Regions from separate parts of the Homo sapiens genome. Here all the other regions are linked to region 3. Evidence: promoter capture Hi-C in 16 types of primary human blood cells and fetal thymus (Javierre and others, 2016). All regions are on one chromosome and are shown on one strand. The core of a region is centred on a gene start or on the middle of the fragment in contact, and the rest is flanking DNA. Distances in the headings are between cores, read along the strand shown.

Evidence for each region. Contacts are between HindIII fragments. The CHiCAGO score rates a contact against its expected background, and 5 or more counts as called.
Region 1: a contact is called between a fragment that was not itself captured here and the fragment with the promoter of MIR381HG in region 3, in 1 of 17 cell types (endothelial precursors). The highest score is 7.3, in endothelial precursors.
Region 2: a contact is called between a fragment that was not itself captured here and the fragment with the promoter of MIR381HG in region 3, in 1 of 17 cell types (endothelial precursors). The highest score is 5.6, in endothelial precursors.

Annotation. Positions count from the first base shown.
Region 1 is chr14:101,230,383-101,233,335 of GRCh38, reverse strand. No RefSeq gene overlaps it. Among named protein-coding and RNA genes, the nearest start is that of LINC02285, 110 kb to the right of the region's middle. RefSeq lists an enhancer at 295-941. The HindIII fragment of the contact is 1,153 bases long and covers 925-2,077 here.
Region 2 is chr14:100,905,435-100,908,167 of GRCh38, reverse strand. It overlaps MEG8 (maternally expressed 8, small nucleolar RNA host gene), which reads right to left. Exons shown (of 51, transcript NR_146000.1): 6 at 2,005-2,070; 7 at 1,036-1,232. Among named protein-coding and RNA genes, the nearest start is that of RTL1, 3.1 kb to the right of the region's middle. The HindIII fragment of the contact is 1,853 bases long and covers 351-2,203 here.
Region 3 is chr14:101,043,734-101,046,433 of GRCh38, reverse strand. It overlaps MIR381HG (MIR381 host gene), which reads right to left and starts at 1,277. Exons shown (of 3, transcript NR_104192.1): 1 at 1,250-1,277. It overlaps MIR1185-2 (microRNA 1185-2), which reads right to left and starts at 2,236; the gene lies at 2,151-2,236. It overlaps MIR381 (microRNA 381), which reads right to left and starts at 514; the gene lies at 440-514. RefSeq lists enhancers at 1-168, 169-669. The HindIII fragment of the contact is 10,476 bases long and covers 1-2,700 here.

The DNA of each region.
Region 1 (2,953 bases), core at 252-2,751, 190 kb before region 3:
CCCGAGATGCTGTTGAGGCCATGTTTTCAGTTCCCCAGGCCTCCGGCTGGCAGGAGCCTCCCCTTGGCTCTGATCCTGTGCCATCAATCTTGCTCACCAAGACTCAGCCCCCGTCTGGGTGGGCTTAGGGAGGCGGGAGGCCTGGTGGCTTGGCACGTGGAGGGGGCCGCAGAGGCGCATGCAGGAGGCCCTGGCCTTCCTGGGGAAACGCCTGCCAGCACCTTTTGCAAACAGCCCGCCGGGGCAGGAGCAAGAATGCGCGGGAAGGAGCAGTGTGGGGAGGAATGGTGCGGGGTGGAGTGGTCTGTGCCGTGGGCCCTTGGGGCCTGAGGAAGGGCAGGTTTTCAGGAAGCCCCTGAGGCCCAGGGTGCACTGTGCACCCTCATTTTGCCACACGTCTCCTCTTGGCCTTTGCAAACTCTGCTCTCCAGCTGCCAACATTTTTTGACAGCGAGGCACCGCTTTAACCAGACCCCAGCTCCTGGGCCTGAGAGCACTGCTTTACGCGGGCTAAGCACAGGCCCGGCGCCGAGAGAAAACACATTCATGAAAGCATCCACATTAATCATGGGCGATGGCACAGAAAGGAACCGAGGCTAGCACTAGACAGCACTGTGTGTGGGGGCACTTGTGTGTTCATGTGTGTGTGCGTGCTTACATGTGAGCGTGTGTGTGTGCACTTACAAGAATGTGTGTACGGATGTATGCACGTGACCGTGTGTGTGTGTGCGAGTGCATATGCTCACGTCTGTGTGTGCGTGACTGTGTGCGTACCTGCCTGTGGGGGGGCACATGTGTGGGCATGTGTATGTGGGCATGTGTATGCAGGCATTCATGTGTGTGCACTGTGCTTGAACGCTGGCAACATGTCACCAAGAATTCTGCTAGGCAAGGAGAAAGAGGCCCGATGGGCTGTCCCAAGCTTTGTTTTGAAAGGCCCTTTTCCTCTCCTCCTCACAAACCAAGTCATGCCTCTCTGACTTTGCCATTTCCCTTGGCCCTGGCGGCGGTGTTTGCCAGCTCCGCAGGGAGGTCTGGTGGTCTGGTTGTGGGGTGGTGTTTCCCACATTGTTGAAAGGTTTGGTGGGCAAAAGCATCCAGTTTTCATCCTGACCCCAAAACCTCCAGCCAAGGCAACTGACACTCAGTCAATAATAATACAAAATTAATCTCATGTTTATATGGAATCTTCCACCCCAGAGACAATCGCCTTGTTTGGAAGCTGGGGGTGGATTAGCTGGTGCGTGACCCGTGTGGGTGAAAGTGAGGAAAGCCAGCTTCAAGGCCAGGCCACCACCACACTCTGTGACCTGGGACCTGCCACCCACCCTCTTGGCCTCGACATTCCCTAGAAGGAAGGACCAGGGCCAGGTGTCTCCTGGAACTCTGAAATCCTGAATCAGAAGTGTGACCCTGAGAGTAGGTCTGTGTGCTCTTGCTAGGAGGATTTGCTGTCTAAAGGCCATGGCATCCAAGGTAGGTTCTGAACATGCAGAGGCTCATGGAGGAGGAATACAGGAGGAGGGGAAGGCATAGGGTTGGCTCCTGGGACTTGTGGGCTGTGTGGGGTTTGGGGTCTGTTTCATGCTTGACACATGTAAACATTTACTCAAACTCTGTCTCACTTCATGAAGGAACACCTCAGCCTACAGGCACGATATAGCAAAACTAAGTGAAACACAAACACACAAAAGGTCCCAGGTAAGAGTAAATATACATGAGAAGAACTGAACAGCAAAGAGAAAAGTAAAACACAAATATACAGGCCAATAGGTCCTGTAGAGTGGATTTGTCTGAAGTTTTGAATTTGTCTCTGAGATTCCTGGAAGCCAAAATGAAAAGGGAAATAAGATTAGTTCAGTTGTCTTCACAATCCCTTAGAATAAGATTTCCCAACTCTCTATCCATCAGGGCACACAGAGAATATGTGAGACCCCAGGGGAAAATGTATGGGGCCACTGTCATCATCCTGGAGACCGTCCCATGAGCTGAGCAGAGCAGTGTCTTTGCACACCAGTGTTAGGAAAAGGCTCTGTCAAAGACAGCAGTCATTCAGTGCTCTGGAAGGTGCAAAGCTTTTTCTAGCTTTGGCTCTGAAAGATGCTTTTCTCATGAGGCTCCATCTAGGTGGCCCTGAAATGAAAAATGGATAATGTCCCCAACAGCATCTGGACAGCAAATGCGGTGATGAGTCTCATAAAACTGCTTCTTGTAACTGCCCCCCGTGAAAGCTGAGGGCACGCATCCAAATGGCAGAGGCTGCAAGGTGAGAGTGAGCTACAGGCAGACAACCTTGTAAACCTGGCTGGGCACTGTGCCCACCTGCAGGGTGAGGCAGGTACTCGTGCCTTTCCTGAGCACCTGCTATGTGCCCAGTCCTGATAGGAGGTTTATATACATGGTCCTGTTCAATCCTCCCACACTGAGCACAGTGGCTCCAGAGGCCCACTTCATAGATGAGGGCCCAAATCTCATCCATGACCCAGCCTCACACCAGGTCTCTGTGGCCCTGCAGCAGCTCTGTCCTCTCCCTTGGCCTGGTCCTTGGACCTAGTGGTCACCTAGGGTGCAATGCTCAGGCTGTGGTTCTGGAGCTTTCCAGCTTGTTCGAGACAGCAGGGTGAGGCACCTGCACAGGTTAGGGTGGGCACCACCACAGCCCAGGCCTAGGCATGGTGCCCTAGACAGGGCACTGATGGTCAGCTCAGCCTCAGAAAGGGCCAAGGCTCACACACCTGCAAGTCCCTGCATGGGATGAGGTCCTCACACCCTCCCTGTGCCCTTGTCCTCGCTGAGCCCTTCCTTGGGGTGACCCCATCTTATCCACAATCACACCTCTATCCCCATTTCACAGACTTGGAAGCAGGCACAAATGATACAGGAGTGCTGGGAAGGGAAGAGCGTGGTCCCTTTAAACGATACGGAAGCAGGGAAGGGAAGTGCTGGGTAGAGA
Region 2 (2,733 bases), core at 28-2,527, 140 kb after region 3:
ACAAAAGTAGTCAATGGCAAAGCTGAGATTGAAACCTTAGCACCTAGAATGTGTGAAGTAGGGCCTAGCCCATGAGCAGGTTCTCAAAACCTATCTGCTAATGTTAACCCAGGTCTGCAGCAAGGCTTACTGATTCGCCATTCAGCCCTACATCCAGTCCCCTCCCTCCTTGCCTTGCACTGGAGTCATTTTTACATCTACTACCATTAGCATTCAGTCAGAATATGAGATGCCAGGAATCTAATTTGACTTGATTAATTGTACTGTAGGATGCCAGTGATATGTGTGGCCCTTGCCTGTGTGATCATTACAAATAGAATACACTAGAGATATTACTTGGGAAATAAGCTTGGATTTGATTGGATGAGAAGTTCAGCTCACTGACAGACCAAGAGAGTGAGTCCAATATGAGACAACCCCAAGGCAGATTTCTTCAGACATGGTCATAGAGAAAAGGAAATAAACAGGTTGAGGGGATGAGTTTGGAAGGAAAGAAGACTCGAGTTCAAATCCTGGGTCTGCATTTCCTCCTTATACGATTTTGGGTAAGTCACTTACCACTCCTAAACTTCGGTTTCCTTTTCACTTAATTGAGAATAGAAATTGCTATCATGGAGGGTGGCTGTGATGATTTAGAGGAGATAAAATTATGCCAAGTGCCAGTGAAGGGCTGAGTATGCGGTTGGGGCTTAGGGCTTAGTCATCCAGGAGAGCCAGTGGAAAGGCGGATGCCTGCTCTTCGTCAGTGCTGCGTGAAAGCAGCAGAGACGGAGAGTTGCCACTGAGCAGCTCCAGCACCACAGCTGGGACTTGGTCCCTGTAAGCTGGCATCCCACCTGTTGTCCCAGAGCCACCTGAGCCAGTCAGTGCGCTCAGAAGCAGAACAGAAGGCAGGAGCTTCACCAGCAAGCTCCATTCAGAGGGAACCTCTCTTCAAAGATCAAGTAAGCCTTTGATCTTGGTGGGAAATTGACTATCCTCTCTCATTCCTCTCTCCTTCCACCACCTGTGCTTCAATTCACTCATCCATCTTACCAGCATTCATGAGGTAGCCAGCCATCTCTCCATCTATGCATGTATCTTGATGTAGGCATCCATCCATCCATCAGACCTGACATCCATCCTTCCACCTCTCCATTTTGCAGAGGAATCACACAGACCTGAGTTGGAATCCTGGGTCTTGCTTCCTAGCCGACCTCGAGCAAGTCACTAACCTCTCCAAGTCCTCTAATCTGTAAAATGAAGGGAAATCAGATGTCGCTGGGATGAGGATTTAAAGAGAGCGTAGACATACCAGTGTCTGGCCTCAGCAAAGTCATTAAATGTTCATTCCCTCTGCTTCTGCAATCTGGTTGGGATTTATGCAAGGAAATAAACCACCGCATCTTTTGCATGACATGTTGAGAAGTGCTTTTTAGAAATTATCTGCGATGTTTTAGTGGTGTGCATCTTCCGGTGGCACCCAGGGCTGGGCAGTGGCCAAAGCAGTTTGGGGTGGTGGTCCCCCCTGGACTCACAGTAGAGAGTGCCATCTAGTGGATAGGCACCTGCCGGGGTCCCCTGTTGGTCCCAGGTCACAACAGCTGAGGTCAGGCAGCTAAACGGCAAGCCAGGAGGTCCAGGCGAACCCAGCCCCCAGACTGTAGGCTGCCCTTTTTGGGATGTAGTGCATGTGCTGTTTTAACCACTCAGGGGACCTGGACTGCCAGGAGCCTTTTGTTTTATGGACAATAGCCAGCTATGTTTTGCCTGCCCCTGCCCAAATCCCCTTTAAACGTTTCTGGGAAAAAGAATCATTCTCGCAGCTACTGTTTGCTGAGTGTCTCTGACATATTAGACATGCGGCTGGGGCTTCAGGGGTTAATGCTCTAACCCTCTCAATGACCCAAGGAGAGACCCAGAACTTGCCCCATTTTCAGTGAGAACACTGAGGTTTGCTGAGGTTGAGTTTCTCATTTAAGGTCCAGGCAGATATTCAACCCCTAAATGTGTAGCCATACTTACCTTCTAGAGCCCCAGATCCCCTTGAAAGAGCAGGAGATAGTTTGAACACTGACTTGACCAAGCCAACTGTAAAAGAAATTTATGAGTCAATCAAGAATATTGGAATGCTACATAGATGGTGGATGATATTAAGGAAAGGCTATTAATTTTTTAACTTGTGATAATGGTGTTGTGGTTTTATTTTTAAGAAACAAAAGCTTCTTATTTAGAGATACAAACTAAAAAATGCTCAGAGGAAACAGGATGGTGTCTGAAATTTGCTTCGAAATAGTCCAGGGGTAGGGGTTGGGCAGTGGGAGTAGAGGGACAGTTTAGGGTTTAGATGAAACAAGAGGGGCCAGGGTTTGACGGCAACCGTGTCCGGGTAATGGCAAGATGAAAATTGAGTAAACAGTAAAAATACGTACTATTTTCTCTACTTTTGTGTTGTTTGCAATTTCCCATAATAAAGGGATTTTTAAATCAACAAGTGAAAATACAGTGCAGAAGATGAAGGGCTGGGGGTGAAGGGTGCCATTTAAAAGAACAGAGGGGCCTGGGGTATGAGAGAAATTTTCTGGAGTAGCAGGGAACTGATTCACAGGGGGCAAATGCCTCAAAGTGAAAAGGGAACTAGAGGGGCTGGATCCAGAGGGAAGAGAATCATTCCACGTTGAGTGGACGGAGGACGATGTACCAGGGTGCAGAGTGTTGCGGAACGAGACACCCGCCAGCTGCCCAGAGACCCTC
Region 3 (2,700 bases), core at 28-2,527:
CCACTGCCTTGGGTGGACTTGGTACGTCTTCAAGGCGCGGTCCTGGGGATGAATTAGATGCTGAGGGTTAGTGGACCGGGTCACATACCCCAAGCAGAACATGCACACTCACGGACCGAGTAACAGCAGGGACCACAAAGCCACTACCCCACACGAGCGCCACCCCAGCCATCGGCCCGGGCTGATGACTTCCCGCTCAGGAAGCAGGGACCCAGACCACACACATCGTGCATGCTTTTGGCCCCGCCCACACTGCACCAGGAGAGGGGATGTCCCAGAGGCCACTGCCTTCCCTAAAGTCATCCAGGTGCCCGTGAAGTCCTCTCTGTGAAGTGGGGACCCGTGAACGATTTGCCACACACAAAACGGATACACACGGTCATGCACACACATACCGCATCCCTTGCTGAGTGTGGACTGGGTCCAAGACAAGGTTTGATACTCACAGAGAGCTTGCCCTTGTATATTCCATGTCAATAAACCGAATATACAAAGGGCAACCTCGCTTTAAGTACCAAACAATAGCACTGGGCAGGTTCCTCACTATCATTCACGGGGCCGGCCTCCTCTCCCGGGGTTCATCCTGGCGGGGGAGGGGGTGGGAGATGCGGGATCAGCAGACCAGGTGGCAAACACCACCTGCCAGCTGTGTGCCCATAGGTCAGCTCTCCATCCCAAAGGGGCCAGGAAGGGGCAGACGCCAGTGCCCCTTCACCAGAATCAGCCTCTTTTCCAGGCATCACTCCAGATTAGAACTTGTTCCTGAAAAGGAGATCCACCCCACGGGCCTTCCTGGGCACACGCAGAGCTCAGCTTCTCACTTTCTATAGGAATTCCCTGGGGTGGGACCACCATCTCCTTCCCAGTGTGGGCACCTCTCCAGGAAGTTTTCCTAAGGATGCACTCAGCACCGAGGTCCCAGGCACTGGATGAATTTACACCTTAGACAAAGCAAAGGCCCTGTGGTCACCATCCCTTCATCCATCTCACAGAGCCGTTGACACCAGTGTCATTCTCCATGCCAGCCCTTGCCCCACCCCTGCCAGAGGCTGGCATCGTGGCCATGAAGCCATGCTAAGAAAGAGCACAGGGTCAACAGTAGTAAACCCCACGTACCCCCAAGTAACTGAGGAAGCAGACCCACAGCCCATTCCCCACAGTGGTCTCTCCTTCAAGAAGGGGAGAGGAGCGGGAGCCGCCTGGTCCAGGTGGCAGGTTATGTGACTCATTACCCAGGCGTGGTGCTCACCTCTCTTCAGCTGGACGTTCGCTTTCCTTGGGCTGAGGATGCTGCGAATGTCCTTCCTGAAGCTGGCTTCGGGTCCAGATGACCCCCATGGCAGTCGGGGTGTAAAAAGCCGGCAGTCACACGGCCCAAGGAGTGTCTCCACAAACACAGAACAAGAGTCCCATTCTCAGGCAGCCATCCTAGGTGTGAGCAGAAAGCCAGCAGTCAGAGACGGGGCACAGACATCGAGGCAGAAGCAGGCGCCCTCTGACCTCCCACATGCACGCACCTGGTGCGGGGCTGACAGCTCCCACGGCTCATCCCCAGCGCTGCCTTCATGGGCAATCACAAATGACAAATAGAAGCAAACCATTCTTACAGATTCAGCCTGGGGACTGCGAGCTGGATCATGAACACCCAAGCATCAAAAAAAAAAAGCGCTGATGAGCACACCTCAGCCCCTTCCCCAAGGTCAATACCACCTCCAGGAAGCCCTCCTGGGGCTGGCCTACCAGGCTCGAAAACAGCATAGACAGAGCCAGTGCTCCGTGGTCCACCATCACTGCTGTCTGTGTTCCCCTTGAAATGATCCAACATCCAGGTCCCCCTTCTAAGGCTGATGCTGGGAACAGGAAGCCTTCTGTGTATGACTTGGTACCAAGAAGAGGCAGATCAATGTGTGATTTATCCTTAAAAAAGCAAACCACCATTAAACTTGGAGCACACAAAAAGGTCCCTCCTCTCCCACTGCTTCCAGGGAGTCCACAGGAAGAACCAGCATAGAGGGCGAAGGCAGAACCCAGGGGCAGCGTCACAGCCAACCTCACGTTCCCGGACATGGAAGCCAGGCCATACCTGAGAGGGGCTGACATCCGAGGCTTTGTCCTGGAGACAAGCAGGGTATGAGTGTCTTCTCCGACAGTTTGATACGCAAATGAGAGTCTCCCCCTGTATATTCGCCATTAATCAAGTGAACATACAAAGGGTATCCTCTCTTTAAGTACCAAAGGGTGGCTCAAAGAGCAGGTGAGGACCATGCCGGGTCTTTGCCGGAGTGGACATCTCCTCCTGCGAGGCCTGAGACCAAGGGGGAGGGGCCCGGTGACAAGCCTCATCTGGCTGACCCTGGAGCTGGGCCTGCACCTTGCACATTGTGGCCTGGCCCCGAAAGGTGGCACATCCAGGACTCCCTGCAGGCGAGACTGGCTTCTAAACAAGGGAACAGGTAGGCATGACTATCAGTGTGCTCAGCATGCATGGGTGAACCTGCTTCAAATACCCACAAGCTACATGGACAATGGAACCATCACCTTTCTCCAAAGGGGCACAGGGTGTGAGGGCTCAGCCCGGCAAGACATGGAGTTATCAGAGAAGAAGGCATCTGCAGGCATTCTCAGAGCTGGAGAGCGCTGAGACAATGTCTCTCCTCTGAGGCTGGTTGTCCTAGAGATGACCAGATCCAAGAATGTGTC